7 separate regions of the Homo sapiens genome follow, and all the other regions are linked to region 1. Evidence: promoter capture Hi-C in 16 types of primary human blood cells and fetal thymus (Javierre and others, 2016). All regions are on one chromosome and are shown on one strand. Each heading gives the region's core, a stretch centred on a gene start or on the middle of the fragment in contact. The rest is flanking DNA. Distances are from core to core; before and after follow the strand shown. Region 1 holds the start of MARCKS (myristoylated alanine rich protein kinase C substrate). Region 2 overlaps LOC107986634 (a long non-coding RNA gene). Region 3 overlaps LOC107986634 (a long non-coding RNA gene). Region 4 overlaps LOC105377949 (a long non-coding RNA gene). Region 5 has its middle 11 kb from the start of RFPL4B. Region 6 overlaps LOC107986634 (a long non-coding RNA gene). Region 7 overlaps LOC107986634 (a long non-coding RNA gene).

Region 1 (2,700 bases), core at 33-2,532:
GGGAAGAAAATGCTTATTAAGCTGTTTCCTTGGTTCCCCTCACCCCTCATACTTTAAGTCAGTGCCTTGTCTCTCACGCACAAAAAGCGTCTGGTACTTCGGTGGCAAGGAGTGCAGTGACAGATGGAGGTATCCTGTGTACCATTATAGAAGGTTTTCCTCTAACCCAAGTTAGACTTGGAGAGCTCAGGGATCTTGCTATCTCTCAACATACAGAACATTTCTCCTTAGAACTGCAATCCGGTTTAGAATGTCATCGTTGCTGCTGCCTCCCTTCCTTTCAGGAGCACATTCGCCTGCGTGCGCACTCACACACACGTTCAAAAAGAGTCCATTCGATTCTGGCAGTAGGCTGAAAACGATCCATATTGACGCGAATAACATCCCAACTGTAAATATGGATTCGTCTACTCGAGGCTGTGTCTCATTTCACCATAGAGGAAAATTATGTCATTTAAAACAGTGATAAAACGCGAAGAGTTTCGATCTTCTGTAAATGGCTCTCACTTTGAATTGTGGGGGAAAAAAATCACTAATTGGGAATAGCCAGAGAAGGGGGAATTTGTTGAGCGCCCAAGGCCAATCTCAAAATATTTTATTTCATGCCAATGTGGGAGAGGGAAGGGAGTGTGGCTTCGCTGTTTGCCGCTTTTGCATTTTCCACATCTGGCCTACAGACCTAATTCTAACTTGCGATCTCGCTTGATGAAATTCGATCTTCGTGGTTTAAATACCTTTCAATTTGGGACGATTTAACCATTGCAGCAGTTCAAAAAACAAACCCTGAGCATTATCTGTAAAACCAATATGGAAAAAAGAAAGAAAACATGCTGCAAACACACAAATCGCAACCATTGTCTTTAACACTCGCATACACACACATACACATAAACACACGGAAAGATGGGGGAGGGGAGCGAGTGGAGAGAGAGAGACACACGGATATAGACCGACGAGAGTCAATGCGAGTCAAGTTAACGCTTTCTCCGCCCCGATGCACAAGTACCCCCCTCCCGTGTTAATTAATTCCAAACAAAGCAAGCCAATCAAGAAATGCATTATTATTTTCAAGCAGAGAGAGACGAGTGCCATGTATTTTTTAATTGATTTATTTATTTGGAGGACATTAATTCTCGGTCTGAGGCTGATTTTCAAACCGTTTGCAAAGCGCGGCTCCATTGTTCGCCAGGCGCGCAGACCCCGCCCCCTGCTTTGTGTGCGGCGCGCGGATTGGCCGACGCGCGCGGGGGCCGCGTCAGCGCCCGCGAGCCCATTCATCTGTGCACTTGGGCGTTGGACCCCGCATCTTATTAGCAACCAGGGAGATTTCTCCATTTTCCTCTTGTCTACAGTGCGGCTACAAATCTGGGATTTTTTTATTACTTCTTTTTTTTTCGAACTACACTTGGGCTCCTTTTTTTGTGCTCGACTTTTCCACCCTTTTTCCCTCCCTCCTGTGCTGCTGCTTTTTGATCTCTTCGACTAAAATTTTTTTATCCGGAGTGTATTTAATCGGTTCTGTTCTGTCCTCTCCACCACCCCCACCCCCCTCCCTCCGGTGTGTGTGCCGCTGCCGCTGTTGCCGCCGCCGCTGCTGCTGCTGCTCGCCCCGTCGTTACACCAACCCGAGGCTCTTTGTTTCCCCTCTTGGATCTGTTGAGTTTCTTTGTTGAAGAAGCCAGCATGGGTGCCCAGTTCTCCAAGACCGCAGCGAAGGGAGAAGCCGCCGCGGAGAGGCCTGGGGAGGCGGCTGTGGCCTCGTCGCCTTCCAAAGCGAACGGACAGGTAAATTCTACCTGTGGTTGTGGTCATTTATTTCGTGTCTTTCTCTCCTTCCCTCCTGGTGGCTCCCAAGGCTCATTCGTGGAGAGGAGTGTGGCTGGATTCTAGTCTGAAAGTTGAATGGAAATGGATAGCCTAAATTGTGGATTTTTCATAGCCGGGGTCCCCCCACACCAAAGGAGTGGTTCCTTAGAATCCTGGAGAATTCTTGAGTAGACGGGAGGAAAGGAGTGATAAATCGTCTAAAATGGCGTGGTTTGGAGATTGGCAGAACGTGACTAGCTAGGTGCCCTCCTTCCCCCGCCCCCAGCCAGGTTTCATTTGTGTTTGGGGGCACAATGGTGTTTGGGTGTCTCTCGGGTTTGTTGTCGAAGCTGGATTGTCTTCGAGATTTCTGAACTGGTGGTGTGATTGTGTGTGGCGGGGGGGGGAGTCGGGAAAGGGGGGCGCAATGGGGATGGTGGTGGAGAAAGGCGAGGAGGGAAAGGCTGTCTTATTGTATGCCGCGGCGGCGTGCCCTGGGTTCTTGGAAAGGTGGCTGGCTGGGGCCAGACAGAGGGCTTCGGTACCTTTTGATGAGGCTTTCCCACTGTCCTAAATCTTTATTCGTAGCTGTCTGTGGAATTACACATCCATTTGATTTTTAAATGGTATCTGTGGGGTGGGAACACTCGGTGGGTCCTTTAAGAACCTTTCCAGATGGTCAAAAAGAGGCGGTTCGTGCCTTTCGGTCGGGATTGTTCTTGTGCGTGGCGCCTCGACCACCCGCGAGGGGCCGCCCGGCGCTGCCCGGACCCAGGCAGATAGCCACGATTGGGTGGACCCGAGAGGTCGGCCATGGGTGGCTGCTTCGCAAACACTGGGCACCCACCACGCCTCTTTTCCTAGAGAAGAGATCGTGTCGCTTCGCCTGCTCTA
Region 2 (2,986 bases), core at 430-2,929, 1.1 Mb before region 1:
TTTCTTCTGTGACCTATTGGTTTTTAGGCGCATGTTGTTTAATTTCCACATATTTGTGTATTTTTCAAGATTTCTCATCATTGATTCCTCATTTCATGCTATTGTTATCCAAGTAAATATTTCATAGGATTTCAGTCTCCTCAAATTTATTAAGAATTGTTTTGTGGCCTAACATATAATCTATCTGGAGAATGTTCTATGTGCACTTAAGAAGAATATATATTCTGCTGCTATCAGATAGAATGCTATGTACATGCATATTAGGTCCATTTGGTCTACACTGTAATTGAAGTACAATATTTCTTTATTGATTTTCCTTCTATGTATTGAAAGTAGGGTACTGAGGTGCCCCATTATTATAATATTGCAGTCCATCTGTCCTTTTAGATTATTAAATCATTGCTTTATATATTTAGATGTTCCAATGTTAGGTGCATATGTATTTACAATTATGTTGTCCTCTTGGAAAATTAACTCCTTTAGCACTATTTAATGACTTTCTTTGTCTCTTTTTATAGTTTCTGACTTAAAGTCTATTTTGTGTGATATAATTATAGCCACCTCTGCTCCCCTTTGGTTTCTTTTTGCATGGAATATCTTTTCCCATTCTTTTTATTCCATTCCTTTCAATCTATGTGTGTCCTTACTAGTAATGAGTCTCCTACAAGCAGCATATGGTTGGATCTGGTATTTTTTGAAATCCAATCTGCCACTCTATCTTTTATAGGAGAATTTAATCCATTTACACTCAAGGCAATTACTGATAGGTAAGAATCTGCTATTGCCATTTCATAATTGGCTTTCTGATTGTTTTGTAGGTCTTTTGTTTCTTTCTGTCTTGCTATTGCCCTTTGTGGTTTAATGGTTTTCTATGGTTGTATACTTTGAATTCTTTCTTCTTATATTCTGTGCAACTACAATAGATTTTTGCTTTGTGGTTACCATAATGCTTACATAAAATATCTTATCCTTATAACAGGCTACTTTAAATTGATAACAACTTGCTTTTAATAGTATTCAAAAACTATACTTTCACTCTTCCCCATCTTTTATGATTTTGATGTTATAATTTATATTTGTTTTTATACTTTTTGTCCCTTAATAATTTATTATAGCTACAGTTATTCTTAATAGATTTGTCTTTTAACCCCACTAGTAGGGATAACATTGTTTTACATGCCACCCTTACAGTATTAGAATTAGTATGACTACATATGATTTATGTCATCAAGTTTTTTACTTCCTTATTTTGTACTATTAATTAATAGTCATTCATTTCAGTTTAAAGAATTCCCTTTGACAGTTTCTATAAAACAGGTCTGGTGGTGATGGGCTCCCTTAGCTTTTGTTTATCATAAAAAGTTTTTACTTCTCCCTCATTTTTGAAGGATATATTTGTGGATAAAGTGTGCTTGGTTGGCAGGTTTTTTATTTATTTTTGTTTGTTTGTTTGTTTCTTCATTTTTTTCTACCAGCACCTTAAATATACCATCCTTCTCTCTACTGGTCTGTAGGGTTTCTCCTAAGAAATCTGCTGAATACTGTATTAGAGCTGTCTTCAATGTGATGTGTTTCTTATCTTTTGCTTTTCAGTATTTTTATTTCTTTGATTTGTTGTAATTTGATTATGAAATGTCTTGGTAAAGTCCTCCTTGGGTTGAGTTTGATTGTGACCTCTGAGCTTCCTGTAGTAATATCTCCCCAGAATTTTGAAATTTTCAGTCATTATTTTCTTAAAATATGCTCTCTAGTCTTTTTACCTGTTTTCTCCATGAGGACCTCTTATTATGCGAAGGTTAGTTCACTTGATGGCGTCCCATAATTCCTGTAGGCCTTCTTCATTCTTTTTTATTATGTATTTTTTTCTTTTTGTTCCTCTAATTAGATAATTTGAAATATTCTGCTTTAGACCTCACTGATTCTTTTGCTTAAGTCGGCTGTTAAAGCCTTCTAGTGAATTTTTTTAGTTCAGTTATTATATTTTAATCTCCATGACTTGTATTTGCTTTTTATTACTTCTATTTCTTTTTCAAATTTCTCATTTTTGTTCTAAGTTGTTTTCCAAATTTTATTGAATTTTGTATTTGTATTTTCTCATACTTTCTTAAATTTCTTTAAGAGGATTATTCTAAATTACATGTCATTTTATAGATCTTCATTTTTTTCTGGGTCCGTTACTGGAGATTTATTATTTCCTTTCGGTATTATTATGTTTCCCTGAGTTTTCATAATCCTTGTGTCCTTGAATTTATGCCTGTACATTTGATAAATGTCTGTCTTCTCTGGCCTTTGCAGATGTTCTTTGGTGGTGATAGGCCTTTACTATTTAGTTTAGCCTGGGATTTTGTATGGGTTGACTAGTAGCAACATGAAAAAGCAGACTTTGGTGTCAGATTTTCTAGTTGGGCTGGATCATTTCTGTGATCTGAGGTTAAATGGTATTGCTGGTTGTGCTCCATGGTCCATTAAAACCACTAACTGAACTTTGTTGTCAGGTGGGAATGCTGGCTGGTCTCTAATCATCTCTGTTTGAGCAGGGTTGCAGGCTGTCTTCCTTGAATGGGTGGTATTGTTATTTAGAATCTGTACTTGGGCATTTCTATGTGATGGGTTCTGAGGCTGGATGAGGTCTCTAGGTTGCTGCTTGGCCACACAACATGAGCAGGGCCAGAGGCTATGCTCCACAGATACGTGTAGACTTGGGCTTGCCTCCTGGCCTAGGGTATACCTATGCAGAGCACTAAGATTTGGTAAAGCCACCACACTGTGGTTGGCATTGAGTGGGGCCAGATGCTCCCTCTGTGGGTAATTACTGACCTGCAATTGCCTCCATGCTTTGAATACTTAATGGAAACATTTGAACTTAGTTGGAGCACCCTCTTGAGTTGAGTGGGTTCAGATGTTCCCTTTATGGGTAATTGCTTACCTATAGCTACCTCTTGCTCTAGGGAAGACCTAATGAGAGTATCCAGGCTCTGTGGGAAAA
Region 3 (2,965 bases), core at 110-2,609, 1.0 Mb before region 1:
CCCATAAGTCCACTAATAGTAATTTTGTGAATGTTGAAACTGTGTTCAATTTTGATAAAAGATGCTTTAATGAATCCTCCTGCATTCACTCATTACAGAAGGCATGCCTGTGTTCTCCTTATGTGCCAACAGAAAAACTTTCACTGCAAGAGAGAAAAAAAACCCTGGCATTTAAATTCAGTATAAAATTTTTTCTTTTTGTCCTGAGATTGGAAAACTATTAGTGTTGAGTTAATGTACTGACCAGTGTAGAAATAGAATCTGAAAATGGTTCTAATTCTCTCTTTTATTTATGTACTTTTGTGCACATACACTTATCTATGATAACTATCTATTTTATAAACTCAGAAGAAATGAAAAGCAAATCAAATAAAGCTGGTTTAAATAATTTGAGACTGAAATAATGCAGTAATTATAATTTCTGTGTATGGATGGAATGTATCTCCCAAATAATAACCTCCAAACCCATGTGGCCAACAATTGGAAAATCACTGTCATGCACCATAAGACATCAGCCATTAGTTCCTGCTCATGTGCCATTTGCCATTTCTTTGGGTTATGCAGTGCAGCAATGCTGAGTATACTCTTTGATGTTATCTCTCTGAATCCTGCTTGTTGCAAGCTCATCACACTTTTGGCTGACTCTGAAAAATGGCAGCTAGCTTTGGGGTCGATAGTGGGAGGGAAGGGTGCTTAGCTACTTTTAAGCTACAAAGAATATGCTAAATCATGCTTCAGTGTGGCATGAAATCAGAGTGTTACTGGAGATAACAAAAAACAAAAAAGCAGAAAACAAATAAGCTGTCATAAACTGCTCTAGGATGATTCAATTTTTCTACTTACAAATGCTATCTATAAAAGATAAAATATAAAGTACATAGTAAGCCTTTCAGCCTGCATATGTTGGTAATGAAGAAGAATGCTATGTTGCATGTAATGGAGGGCTGGAACATTAATGTTCAAGTGTCAGGCCACTTTCATTGCTTGTTCCAAAATATAAATGAGTGATACAGAAGAGAGTATAGTTAAAAAATACTGTAGTGATAGATAACCATGTGAAAATCAAGAATTGCTTTGACATATTAAATATAATTTTAATAGCATATTAATTGTTAGATCTTATGTAATTAATAGCATCACAGGGCACCTACATATATATTTATTTGATGCTTTCATCAACCCTATTTTGTAGGCATTACTCTTGTTTTCAGATGAGGAGGTCAACTAGTAGGCTAAATGACTTGCCTAAGATTGCACAGACAAAAAGCAGGAGCCGTGGGTTAAGGCTCAGAACTTCTACTTCAAGAACATGACCCTGTGCTTGGAATCTGGTCTTTGAGGCCAGAAGACCAACTGAGTGTGCTCAGTTGTTTAAGACACTTTGGCCTTTGGAATGCTTCAAATCCATTATTTTATTTATTTGTTTTATTTTTATTTTTAGAGATGGGATCTCACTCTTTTTGTCCAATCTAAAGTGCAGTGGTGCAATCATAGCTCACTGCAGCCACCAGCTCCTGGGCTCAAGAGATCATCTTGCTTCAGCCTCCTGAGCAGCTGGGACCACAGGTGTGTGCCACCATGCCTGGCTATTTTTTTGTAGAGATGGGGGTCTCACTTTGTTGCCAAGGGTTGTCTCTGTCCTCAAGCAATCCTCCCACTTCGGCCTCCCAAAGTGTTGGAATTAAGCCGTGAGCCATGGCACCAAACCCTGAATCCATTTTATCGTAAGTGGTTGACTTATCCAATTCTAGCATTGGCATAACGCTCTGGCTGTTTGCACATTATGCCAAACATACTTGTTGAGAAAGGAATGCCATTTTGGAATAACACTGTCCAATATGTGAATTATTAAAGATAAAATAATATTTTACAAATTCACTTTATATATTCAACTACCCTAAGACTTAACGCAAATCTTCTATTTTTTTTCCTTTTTTTTTTCATGAGATCCATGAGGGATGATTGCTCAGTTCTTCAAAACATGCCTACCAGCATTCTTTCACAGAGACATGAGACATAACCTTTCTCTTCTTTAAAAGTCCTTATTCAGCGCCACTTCCTCCAGAAAGTTTACTCCATCTCCTAGTCAAAGCAGCCTTGGACCACCAAGTCTACCATATTCTGCATTTTCCCATAGGTAAAGAATTATTTCTGCAAAGCTGATATGTTGCTTAGGTCTCTGTTGCTTCAATTTTGAGGTATAAAATATCCTGGTCTATTTTCGATGTTTTCTCAAGCCTTCTTTAAAAAATTCCAGCTATGCTGAATTTCTTAGAAATTAGTTTTTCATTTTCAGACACAAAATAATTTTAGCAGCTAGCTTTTACTGCATCTAGATACTTGTCTAAATTTTACTGGATTTACATATATCTGCAAGCCTTGAGGCTCTGAAACCATAATGTGTCTCTCTTTCTTGCTTTTGCTGACCCACAAATATGAATCTTTTAAGTTCCACTTCAAATGCTGTATCTCTTTTTGAAAGACAAAAAAAAAAATTCCTAATTTGAAGGAAGTTTACCTCCCAGGTACCAATATCTTTCAAACACTAAGAAACTAAAAAAGAAATACCATTTTTATATTTTCCATTGTCACCCATATATTAATATTTTTTGTTCACATATTTTGACTTTGCTAGATTATTAAGGAATTTAGCCATCAAAAATTCTCCATGAAAAGAGGTAGATTTCAGACACAAATTCATGTAAATAAGTGAACTCTGAACAATTGGAATTCTCAATTCATACTGAAGGTATGTGGTGTAGAATACCTTCTGTGAAGACAGGGTGTTTACCATAGCACTAGTGTTAAGTACATTTGGGCCAGGTTTACTAAGCTTCAGGCAGGTTCAAAATTCAACTGCAATATGCTGGGGCAAGAGGCAGCCAAGGAATGTCTGAGTGGTAAGAAATGGCCTCTAAATTTACAATTGACTGAATAATCTCTACATTTAAGAATCATCAATGTA
Region 4 (3,052 bases), core at 474-2,973, 1.1 Mb before region 1:
TATGTTCATCTCAACAGCACTGAAAAGTAGAAATTTTTTCTCCAGTCTTATAGACAAGTAAATTGAATGAAATTCATAATATATTTTCAAATGTTATAAATAAGAAGTAGCAGAACTGGAAATCCAGCAGAGATTGTGTTTTTCCAAAAGCTGACATGCTGCCCATGTCTCCAATTTTTTTGCATGCGAAAGACCTAAAGAGTGACATACAAAGCTTTAATATAGAGACTTTTGAAAAACTCTGTTATTTAATGGCTTTTTTTCTCTATATTCTTTCTGCTAAGAAATCCTGGAGGATGGAATCTACCAAATGTTTGACCTTTGAAATGTAGGTTTAACTGAATTTGCTTTTTCTACACTTCTTTACTTGCTTTCCCATTTATGAACATGTAAAATTCTGCCTCCATGCAATTTTCATTGAAGAAACAGCTAACTGAATTGGATTTCTGATTTATAAAGCAAGTCCTTTATGTTCTTCAAAGAGCTTACCCCAAAGGACCAACTGATAACATAGCCCTGTTGTAAAATAATTCATTATAAAGGTCTGAAACAGGAGCTTTCCACCCTATCAGCTAGACGCATGTGCCCTAGTGATATTATCCCTCTCGGGAGGTTTTGAGCATCTTTGGTTCATTTTGCTCTATAGCTTTTACCATGCAATCTGTATTTGTGTTTTCATAACTGCCTCAGACTATACTATTGCCTCCAGAGACAATCTCAAATTAGAAAAAAATGTGTTACTAAAAAAAATCTTCACACTTTCTGAGTTTTTCTTATTTCAATGTGAAATATTTCTGCTTTTGGGCAGTTATGTTTGACTTACCAAGTAAGAAGATGACAACCTTACTTATCAAGTAAGAAGATGCATAAACCAAAATTTTATAATAGTATTGTACTTCATGGGACTGTAAAATTTAGTGAAATTTCAGAGAGGAACTATTGTCACTTTATTCTGGATGAAAAAGCTAAATATATCTAAAGGCTGCTTTTCTTTGAAGATATATTTTAATTATTATAAAAATATTTAGATGTAATGAACGATAGCACTTTTTTTAAACAACTGTGGTAAAATATAATGTATATATAACAAAATTCATCATTTAAAGTATGCAAGCAGATATTGGTAAATTTATGTAGTCAAATAACTACCACCTAAATCACTGTTTGGCAAATTTCCATCATCTAAAAAGTGTTTTTGGCTATCTTCCCCTTACCTCACCCTTGGCCTCTTATCTACTTTCCATCATTATAGTTTTGGCTTCTTGAATTTCATAAAATGAAATCATACAGGATGTAGTATTTTGTGTCTGATTTTTTTCAGTCACCAAAGTGCTTTTGAAATACACCAATGTTGTATGTTTCAGTAGTTCATTCTTTTTTATTGCTCAGTAGTATTCTATTGTTTTGAGTTTGTTTATTCATTCACAAGTAAGTGGACATTTTGTCTAGTTCCAGTTTGGGGCTATTGTGATTACAGCTGTTATGAACATTCGCAAACAATTTTCTATGATCATATGTTTCATTTTTTCTTGAGAATATCTAGAAGTGGAGTGACTGGATCTTATGATAAATGTGTATTTATCTCTGCATATTAAAAAAAAATACCTGCCAAAGTATTTTCCCAAAGGTCAGTACCATTTTGCACTCACACTAACACCATTGTGTTTGAATTGTTCCATATCTTTGCTATCATGATGAATTTTATGTGTCAACTTGACTGGGCTAAGGGATGCCCACATAGCTGGTAAGAATTTATTTCTAGGTGTGTCTGTGAGGGCATTCCTGAGAGATATTAGCATTTGAATTGATAGACTGAATAAAGATTACCCTTATCAATATGAGTTGGCACCATCCAACCTTTTAAGGGCCTGGATAGAACAAAAAGGCAGAGGAAGGATGAATTGGCTATCTCTTCTTGAGCTGGAACATCTGTTGTTTCCTGCCCTTGGTCATCAGTGCTCCTAGTTCTTGGGCCTTTGGACTCACACATGCACTTCCACCATTGGCTTTCCTGGTTCTCAGGCCTTCAGGCTTGGACTGAAACTACATTACCGGCTTTCCTAGTCTCTAGTTTGCAGATGACATATTATGGGACTTCTTACCCTCCACAGTCTCATGAGCCAATCCCTCATAATAAATCTTTTTCTATGTATTTATATATTTTCCTTTTGGTTTTGTTTCTCTGAAGAACCCTAATACTCTTGCCAACAATTAGCAATGTCGTTACATTTAATTTTAACCTTTCTATTGTATATAATGGTAGTATCTCATTGCAATTTTAATTTGCATTCTTTAATAACAAATAATATTGAACATCGTTATATACTTATATGCCGCTTACATATCTTATTTCCTAAAGTATTTGTTCAAATATATGCCCATTTTTAACAAGTTCATTAGTTTCCTCATTTTGAGATTTAAGAATCCTTTGTGTTCTGAGTACAAGTTCTTTGTCAGATATATAATGCACAATTATTTTCTTCCAATCCATCAGATGCCTTGTCATTTTCTTAATGGACTATTTTGAAAAGCATTTAAACAAAATTTATGAAATCTAATTTGACAATTATATTTCTTTTAAGATTTATGTTTTTGTAGCCTATTTAAGAAATATTTATATAACCTTATGACAGAAAGACACTCTGCTCTTTTTGTTCTAGAAATTTTGGACATATGATACATTAAAGTTAATATTTGTATATAATGTGAAATAAGGGCCATAATTCATGTTGCTCCCCTCCCCCTTTTTGTTGCATGTAAGTTCCAGTGGTCTGACTATTGAAAAAACTCTCATCATTGTATTACCTCCAACTTGGAATTTTCTTTGTAGGAAGGCTTTTAAATAAGAGTTCAATTTCCCTGTACATATAGCTTTTTCACATTACTTTTTCTTCCTCAGTGAACTTCTAATTTATGTTTCCTAAGGTCTTTGTCCACTTCACCTAAGTTTTCAAGTTTTGAGGCATAAAGATGTCCATAACATTTCTTTATTATTTGTGAGCTTTTCTGTTCTTTCCTGATACTGCTAATTTGTGTTCTTTTTTCTTAATCA
Region 5 (2,785 bases), core at 53-2,552, 1.5 Mb before region 1:
CCAAAATAATTACCCCAAAGGGAAAGAGTGAAGTTCCAGAAGACAGTTTGTCAAAGAAAGATATCTAGGTTTATGCTCAGAGAAAGCTTTCAGGAGAAGTAATGTTTAAAGGCTAGGGAGAAATAAACTAGATGATGAGGGGAGGGAGGTGACCTCCAGGACAAGAGAGTATTTTATCAGAACACGCTCAGGTACTGTGGGGCAGGGTGTAGCATGTCATAGAACTGAAGGAAGGATTGTGTATGGCGAATAAAGGGGGAGTGTGGTGGGAGCCCAGATCAAAGAGATAGACACACCCAGACACTGAGCAAAACCTGGCCTTGTAGGCTTGTGTAAGGATTTCAGTCTTTATCTCAGGGACAATGGGGATCCACTAAAGAGTTTTAACCAGGGGGCTCAGAGTAAAGGGTCTGAGGCTGAAAGGGGTACAGAGTGGATACAGAGCCACCATTTAGGAGGCTGCTGTGGCAGTTAGGCTAGAGATAATATTGGCTTAGCCTGGGATAATGGCCAAGGTGGTGGGAGATGTGGGGAGTTCTTTGGGCAGGCACATACAGAAAGGAAGGAAAAACAGAAGACTTGGAGAATTTCTGGATGAACTTGTATAAGCATGATGCTAGCAGAGGAAGTTTAAAATGAGAGCCCAAATCACAGTTTGCTTGGCCTTGCCCATCCTAGAAACTAATTAGAAAAATGAGATAAATAAATATTTTGAAGTATGAGAAAGAGCAAAACACTTTCCTCTTCTACAAACCCATCTCACTTTGAAGAGGAGAAAAATCAGTGATTTTGTTTAGTCCCTTGAGTAATGAGAGCTGTGGGTGGTCACAGTTAGAGGTCTGAAGCCTCCTCTAACTCTACAGGAGCTGGATTGTACTAAAATGTCAGATCAGTCTGGAGGGGAAATGAATCAGAACAGCTGAAATGCAGAATTTTTGCTGTGTTCTCCCTTACCTAAGGGACAGCCATGGCTTTGCAACCGTTAACTTTCCTTGAAAAGGAATTCAGACTGCCTCTGAAAGATCTGCAGAGCTGTGAAGGCTGAAAAGCAAGTTATTCTTGCAAAGGTCTTTAAGTAAAACTGGCTGCTAAAAAACAACAACAACAAAACTATTCTTCCCTTGACATAGTCAACTTAAAAAAATTGTAATGGAGCCTTCTTAGCTTTTAAATTGAGGAACAAGTGGGTAAGAACAAACCAGAATCAAATAGTAAAGCAGGAGTTCCTTCTTCCTTTTCTTTCAATGCCCTTGCTTTCTCCCCACTATGCTGCCACAACTCCTACATCTTTTTAGATGCTTTTGTTTTCCAGGGACTGAATTCTCACTTCCCTGCTCAAGGGATCATCTCAACTTGTTATTCTCCTTAGAGTAATTTTTACAAGAACATGTTTATCATATTAGGAACAAATGTGTTTGGAACTGGGGTGTTTTAAACTCTCTGTTAATGCACAATGCTTTTCGGCAGCTGGCTAACTCCTAGCAAACTTGGCCTTACAAGAGGTCACCAGAATTAGGTACTAGGACTATGTACCAACCATGTACTAGGCACAGCTTATAAATACCTATTAAAGTGAAACCCACCCAGTATTCAGTTAGCAGTATGGGTGATTTGGTGAATTAAATCCATAATGAAATCCTATCAAAATCTCTCCCTCCCCACTGATCTATCAGAATTGCTAAAGAGCTCAGCTAACAAGCCTGTGTGCGACAGTTCAGTGTTATGCACAATCTGCTTTCTTTGGTCTTACTGTTGCAGAGAAATGGCAGGAAGTTAGGTATAAGGATTAAAAATAGGAGCATATAGACCAAATGTAGGCTGTTGACCTTTAAAAAAACTGATGCCTAGTTACACTAGAAGAATGTTATACAAGTATTTCTTTTATAATTGAAACATCTGCATGAATGCTTTCTTTTCTTCCACATATACATAATTTAGACATCTTAATTACAGTTGTATGCTTTGGGGTTTGATTGTAAAAAAACCAGGATGTCTTTTTGTCTGTTCTCCCTGATGTCAAAAAATTGATTACAAATTTTATAAACTGGTTTTTCTCAGTGAGGAAATTTCTTGTCTAATTTTAGCACCCCCCAACCATTCCTAAAACCATCGTCCCATGGATCTCCATGAATCGAACTGCATACGTGCACATCTCTCATTTGCATCTTTTCCTGATATTCATAAAACCTCCCACAAGTGAAAGGAAGGAAAGTGATACTCATGGATTGGTTTCCTGCCCACCATCAAGGCCTGGGATCATAAATAAAGTCTGGGGCTCCACTTGCTGCAGAGACACAGTAGATGGCAGTGTGCAACACAGAAGTGTGAGATTCCCGACCGTCTCAGCCTTGGATGGGCAACTGACTGGGAGGAGGTTGAATCTCTGGGCACGGATGCTGTTTTTCCAGCCTAGTCAGAGAGAGAGGTTGTCTTCCTAGGAAATGCTTTTTCTGCATAAACTTGGTTTTGCTGATTCAGTCAACTGCAGTTATTTGGGCTACTTTGGCACCAAAGAATGTTAAGCTTCTTTAAGCCTGAAAAATGTCTGTACTTCAAAACTCTACTTAAATGCATAAAATAATCTTTCACTTATATGATATGCTTCACTTGTCACTTATATGAACCTCCTTGTGCTTCATATTTTATTAATTTTATTAAAACAAGATCACTATGGATAACCTACAGATAAGCACTCTGGACATTTCATAAGCACATGTTGGATACACCAGGACTTGGTGGTTTGACTTTTCAGCATCGTAGGTGGACTAATATGAGTACCCCCATA
Region 6 (3,007 bases), core at 439-2,938, 1.1 Mb before region 1:
GCCATGCTCTTCAGTCAATACTCCTGAAATAACTCTCAGAATAATTTATTGAATCCTTTCAAGGAGAACTGGGAAAGTAAATTTAGCATATTATTTCTGACTTTGAAGTATAATATGTCAGACTACTTTTCTATTTATGTTATGTTTTATTTAATGATTGCTAAGAGTTATGAGTAAATACAGATTCCTAAATAAGAGGAATTGAAATGTAGATCAGGAAACAGGAAAAATAAATGAGCAAATTGTTTAATTTGGATTTGGTATGCAATTGTTTAAGAAAAATGATCATCTCTTCGTTTTAATGAATACTTCCAGATAGTTGGCTTTTAGTGTTGGTACAGGAAATATCAGCTTAGTCTCAGCTTCTCTGTTAATAAAAAATGTGTAAAATTCAAATTTTTGGTAATTTAAGCACATTTGTACTGAGTCATAATCACTAATCACTTTGGCATCTTAGGAAGATTAAACATTGAATCTGATGATAAAATAAAATGTGTTAGGATTAACTGCCAGATATTTGGGCCAATAGCTCTTGGGTCCTGAAAAATGACTTGATTCGAAGGGCTTAAGTCATTGGTAATTAGTGGGAGGAGGATAGTTGTGAGCCAGTTTCCTTTTTCCTTCATCCTGTTTCTCTCCATTTCATTTAAAGGACTTGAAAGTGTTCACATGGTCTCTTTAGGTCTTCTGCAAGGTAAGAATAGATTTTAAGGTAATAATGCATCAGAATAATGCTGAGAGAAGTAATTCATATTAGTGAAGCCAAAAGTTTACCTTACATTCATTTCACTCTAAAGCAAAAGGTGCACCAGAGTGAAACAAGACTTGACCTTGCTGATATAGTTACTAGTATCTCAGTGACAGTGATGCCCAGTGGAAGCCAGGAACCCATGCAGGTGTGTGCTTGTGTGTGGGTAGAGATGGAGAAGTATGAGGGAAAGGGAAGATGTAAAAAAAATGGGGGGGGGGAGATAGGAATATAAAGGGCACTTTGAATGCTTAATCAAAAGGGACTTTGGCATAACCAAAGGGCAGCCACATGGGAAGAATAAGAAATGTTTGTACCACCCTCTAGGTTTCAACAGTGTACCTAAGAATCTCTTGAATAAGATGGAGTCTTTTCTGGTAAGGATGAAGCCTGTGTAATTTACTTGTGCCTATAGACACTAAAGTCAAAATTACATTTGGTGCATATCCTACTTTCTCAGGAGCTAAACCTGGACATACATCTGGAGGCATCAATAGGTTTGATTTGAGAAGCTTTATACAACAGCTGGTAATAGTAGCCGACAAATTGAGTTTAAAACATCTGACTTTAAAACCCCTGTCACTATGTCAGAGGCATTTAAACCAGGGTGACTCTGTCTTGAACAGGGGCTAGGTAAACTGAGGTTGAGACCTATTGGGCTGCATTCCCAGGAGGTTAGGCATTCTAAGTCACAGGAAGAGAGAGGAGGTCAGCACAAGATCCAGGTCACAAAGACCTTGCTGATAAAACAGGTTTCAGTGAAGAAGCCAGCCCCAAATCCCACCAAAAACAAGATGGTCATGAAAGTGACTTCTGGTTTTCCTCACTGCTCATTATACACTAACTGTAATGCATTAGCATGCCTAAAAGACACTCCCACGAGTGCCATGATAGTTTGCAAATGCCACGGAAATGTCAGAAAGTTACGCTGCATAGTCTACAAAGGGGAGGAACCCTCAGTTTTGGGAATTGTCCACCTCTTTCTTGGAAAACTCCTGAATAATCCACCCATTGTTTAGCATATAATCAATAAATAACTATTAAGTATTATCAGTCGAGCAGCCCAAGCTGCTGCTCTGCCTATGGAGTAGTCATTCTTTATTCCTTTATTTCTCTAATAAACTTGCTTTCACTTTATGGTCACTGCCTCGAATTCTTTTTGAATGAAAACCTTCTCTTGGGGTCTGGATAGGGACCCCTTTTTGGTAACACCTTTAGTGAACCAGCTAAGGTACATTGGATACTTGTCAGTGAGTATAAATAATGTTAATTTGTTAAAACTTTCCCATTTTTAAGAGCTCCTCTGACAAACTAGAGTCATAGACAGTCTCCAGTGCCAGAGAAAATTACACACGTGAAGAAGTAGCTGCAAGCTTTTGCCATTGAAGTGTCTTCTCAATTAAAGATGGAGCACTGGCATGATAGCAGACAGTTCAAAGCACGCACACTATATAGATCTGGTCAAACCAACTCTGATGAACTTTTTACTCAGAATTTCAACTGAAAGAAACCACATTCCCAAATGTTGCTTAATAGATAAAACACGGGAGATCAATTTTGCCTGAATTTGTATTAGTGCTCCATGAAATTATGATACCATCACACCTCTATCCCTGTTATTAGGATATGCTTTCTTGAAATTTTATTTCATTTTTGAGAAGAATGATGCAGACTTTTTTTCTGTCAACAAAGAATCATCATAGACAATGTAAGCCTCAGAGACACTTATCTTGACAATTTTTTTTAACAAAAGGCTACACTTGTAATTTTCAAAATAACCTCACTAACCCATGAAAAATATTATTTTTAGATTTATATAATGATGCATAATGACTCTTCTCTGATAAGCTTTGGTTTCATCATCCATCAACAAAAGGAACTCTTTTTGTTCCTTTAGTATTTAAACACTTTTATTATTAGACACTTTTAATAAGCTTATATAAGGTTTTAGTACAAATATTACCATTAATCTTGCTGTGTCTATCTACTATGAAAGATAAAAGCTAGTTTCAAATCAGAACTGTAAAACAAAATTTGTTACTGTTACAGAACATATTTTAATTTACACCCATATTTTAAAACTGGATATGTATAAAAATGCTATGAAAGGTTAAAATTCTAAACAAGTAGAACACATGAAGAACATGTTCACTCCTTATCTAAATACAGGCTTTAAATCAGCATCAAAACCACTTTTAAAAATAGATCATAGGAATAATCAATATCATAAAAATGGCCATATTACCCAAAGTAATTTAT
Region 7 (2,993 bases), core at 30-2,529, 1.0 Mb before region 1:
CAGTGGAGAATGCTTATGTCATTCCTTCTGTGAAAAAGAATTACTTTGATCACATCTCGTCACCTATGAGATTCGGTCCAACTCTTCAGTTTCATAATTGGCCCTCAAACTGTGTCTTCGAGCTCCTACTTTTCTTTTATAGTAACTCAATGTGTAATCATAGTGTAACCATAGCAAAGTAATAGCTACGTTCCTTCACATGGTATTCGTCTTTCTAGGCAGCAAGGCTTTCCCTGTGTATTATTTAGCTATGTGGCATAATAAGGCATAAAAATCTGTCTCAAAACCCAGGGCAGTGTCTTAAGGCAACACACATTTTTGGTTTTTCACTTAAGCGTTGTGTGGGGCAGCTTTGATTCAGGCTGGGCTCAGCTGGGATCTGCTGGGCTTGGCTCCAGTTGGTAGGTTGGAATTAGATCAGCTTTGTGTGCCTCCTCATTCTTCCTGGACCAGCAGCTATTCAGAGTATATTCTCTTTCTGGCAGATTATCGAATGCAAGGGGCCACATGCTAGCACATTTATGGGCTCTGCTTGCATCATGACTGCTCCCTTCCACTGACTAAAGCAAGACACATAGTCAAGCCCAATATCAATGTAGTGGAGAAATATGTTCTAACCGAAGGAGAAGAGATAGGTAAGTGGTAGATATGTTCTACCAAAAGATAAAAGAAGTAGATGACAATATTTTCTGATCAACACAGTGTGTATCTCACACATTATTCCTTGTTGGCATATCCATCATGACCTAGCACAAATGTTGCCTACTTTATGAACCCTCTCTATTGCAGTAGGTAGTCAGGTCTGAATTTTGAAATCCAGTGCACTCTGCTTACAGCTATTCATTAAGGCATAGGCTTGTCTCTTCTCCTGGGCTCTAAAGATCTGAGACAATTTCCTATTAAAATTTCTATTCCCAATATCTACCATACAACCTAGCAAGTTATACACTTAATAGATGTCATTTGTATAAGAATGTAGATAATCCCATTAAAGAAAACCAACCCCATTCAGATTCCATCAATGTCAGCTTTGTGTCTATCTGAAATGAGAAAACTACCATATGAAACTTAGTAGATATTGCATTAAATGTAGCACATTTAGGAAGTGTTCCCATATAAAACTGACTAGAAGCAGGTGATTTGAAATTAAATTCCATAATTAAATACCATATAGCATGCTAAAGTGTTCAGTACAATTTGCCAAGGGTTTTTCCACAGAAAGTGATGGAAAATTCTTTGGTAGAAATTGATGTTGAATGTTTAGAGCCTTGACAGAAAGAACTCCTTAGCAGTCAAAAATGTAGAATATTCTTCGCTTTCTCTCAGAGTTCTGCTACAAAAATCTCAGTTTTGTTTCAGTTTTTTTAAATGACACATATAACGTCAATTGACAAATGCCTGAATTTGTTCTAGATGATAATTATTCCATTCATCTACCCATCCTTTCCAACCTACTATCTATTCATTGGTCCATCTCTTTATTTATGTATTCTACCTTTCTGAACTAATTAACCTTAGTTTTATTTAAATTCACTCATAATCCAGTTTAGAATCAATGATTTATGATTTCAATTATATCTTTGCCAATATCCTGACCTGCTATTTCCCTTGGCCTTTTCATTGCTTTCATCTGAATGAAGACTGGATGAGTCCAAGTACTCATTTCCATTATGTCTCCTTGAACCATCTAAACACCATTTTGTTAAACTAAAAAGTCAATTCCCATTCCATTTTCTCCATCACAAATACACTATTGACTTTTAAGATTTATATTTTCAATACTCAATTAATTTCAAAACCACCTCATACAGTGGTTGTCAAGTTTGATCTATGAAAAAAATGATTAGAGCTTGGGATTGCTATCCATAGCATTAGTAGCATGCTGCTTAACCTTATCAGCTGCATGCTCAACAATTATAAAATGAGTACCAACTGAAATAATTTTATATTTAATTTATTTTGGATAATTAGGTTTGATAATTTTTATGATGAAATTTAAGTTTTGTTCTCTCTGTGGAATTCAGGCATGATGTTTCCAGTTCATTCATTTTCTTACCTTCCAATTTATATATCTCTTATCTGGAAGGAACCACAAAACATACATTATTACCAGCTGACATATTCAGATGGATTAATGTACCAGAAAAAAAAAGTTTTCACCTTGGAAAGGAGAGTCAAGTCTTGATGCACTGGGGAGTAAAATGGGTATGTTTTGAAGGAGAAGCAGGATGACAAGAAAATTTCTAGTACAGGAATTATAAAACTAAATGCCTTAAAGGTCAGGAAAAGTTACGCAGGCAAGGTGTTCAAAAAATGCTTGTAAGTAACTGTGGATAAATAGAGTCCCTATGCCACCTAAAAGCATTCCAGTCCTACATATTATGTCAACCAAATAAAATAGCCCAGAATCCCCACTGTGAGGCAACTGGTCCAGAGAATTGAGTTCAGTGGAGAAAAAGAACCCCAAGCAATAAGGCATAGAAGTCAACAAGCATATGTGGTGAGAGGTAAGCCCTCCAGCACAAAGGCATGTCTTTAGTGTTGTCTTATCAACACCAAGAGTTACCACGTTAGAGAATTATGTGCTTAAGGCTTTACATCTTTTATAAATATAAGTTATACTTCAAGGGATAAATTGTCATAATTCCATGCATTATCAAAAATAGAACTAAAATTTCCATAAGCAATAAGAACAATAACAACAAAAAAGGAATATCTGTTGGAACCAGCCTTAGGGATTGAAATTGGAGATTTAGTGCTGTCAGGAGATTTTCTCTTTTTCCTTTCTCTTTTTTCCCCCTCTCTCTTCTCTCTATCCATTTATTTTTCATTCTCTTTGCATATATGTTCCATTCTCTTCTGTAAATGGGTTTTTCCTATGTCCAGCAACCTCATCCTATTGATAATCATGAAAGAGAGAGAGAGAGAGAGAGAGAGAGAGAGAGACAGAGAGAGAGAGAGAGACAAAGGAACATTCCCTTTATTCTATTATT

Evidence for each region. Contacts are between HindIII fragments. The CHiCAGO score rates a contact against its expected background, and 5 or more counts as called.
Region 2: a fragment that was not itself captured here is called in contact with the fragment with the promoter of MARCKS in region 1 in 5 of 17 cell types (neutrophils, megakaryocytes, naive B cells and 2 more); the score reaches 12.4 in neutrophils.
Region 3: a contact is called between a fragment that was not itself captured here and the fragment with the promoter of MARCKS in region 1, in 1 of 17 cell types (erythroblasts). The highest score is 5.7, in erythroblasts.
Region 4: a contact is called between a fragment that was not itself captured here and the fragment with the promoter of MARCKS in region 1, in 1 of 17 cell types (megakaryocytes). The highest score is 5.9, in megakaryocytes.
Region 5: a contact is called between a fragment that was not itself captured here and the fragment with the promoter of MARCKS in region 1, in 1 of 17 cell types (megakaryocytes). The highest score is 5.1, in megakaryocytes.
Region 6: a fragment that was not itself captured here is called in contact with the fragment with the promoter of MARCKS in region 1 in 5 of 17 cell types (megakaryocytes, M2 macrophages, erythroblasts and 2 more); the score reaches 15.9 in megakaryocytes.
Region 7: a contact is called between a fragment that was not itself captured here and the fragment with the promoter of MARCKS in region 1, in 1 of 17 cell types (megakaryocytes). The highest score is 5.3, in megakaryocytes.

Annotation. Positions count from the first base shown.
Region 1 is chr6:113,856,063-113,858,762 of GRCh38, forward strand. It overlaps MARCKS (myristoylated alanine rich protein kinase C substrate), which reads left to right and starts at 1,283. Exons shown (of 2, transcript NM_002356.7): 1 at 1,283-1,785. The coding sequence starts at 1,684. RefSeq lists enhancers at 38-97, 118-167, 438-983, 984-1,527, 1,315-1,364. The HindIII fragment of the contact is 4,373 bases long and covers 152-2,700 here.
Region 2 is chr6:112,792,168-112,795,153 of GRCh38, forward strand. The region is part of intron 1 of LOC107986634 (a long non-coding RNA gene); the gene reads right to left. Among named protein-coding and RNA genes, the nearest start is that of RFPL4B, 450 kb to the left of the region's middle. The HindIII fragment of the contact is 6,537 bases long and covers 1-2,986 here.
Region 3 is chr6:112,808,669-112,811,633 of GRCh38, forward strand. The region is part of intron 1 of LOC107986634 (a long non-coding RNA gene); the gene reads right to left. Among named protein-coding and RNA genes, the nearest start is that of RFPL4B, 460 kb to the left of the region's middle. The HindIII fragment of the contact is 2,944 bases long and covers 1-2,831 here.
Region 4 is chr6:112,754,878-112,757,929 of GRCh38, forward strand. The region is part of intron 5 of LOC105377949 (a long non-coding RNA gene); the gene reads left to right. The region is part of intron 2 of LOC107986634 (a long non-coding RNA gene); the gene reads right to left. Among named protein-coding and RNA genes, the nearest start is that of RFPL4B, 410 kb to the left of the region's middle. The HindIII fragment of the contact is 3,023 bases long and covers 213-3,052 here.
Region 5 is chr6:112,335,056-112,337,840 of GRCh38, forward strand. No RefSeq gene overlaps it. Among named protein-coding and RNA genes, the nearest start is that of RFPL4B, 11 kb to the right of the region's middle. The HindIII fragment of the contact is 2,437 bases long and covers 85-2,521 here.
Region 6 is chr6:112,772,885-112,775,891 of GRCh38, forward strand. All of the region lies in intron 1 of LOC107986634 (a long non-coding RNA gene), which reads right to left. Among named protein-coding and RNA genes, the nearest start is that of RFPL4B, 430 kb to the left of the region's middle. The HindIII fragment of the contact is 861 bases long and covers 1,259-2,119 here.
Region 7 is chr6:112,834,880-112,837,872 of GRCh38, forward strand. The region is part of intron 1 of LOC107986634 (a long non-coding RNA gene); the gene reads right to left. Among named protein-coding and RNA genes, the nearest start is that of RFPL4B, 490 kb to the left of the region's middle. The HindIII fragment of the contact is 5,516 bases long and covers 1-2,993 here.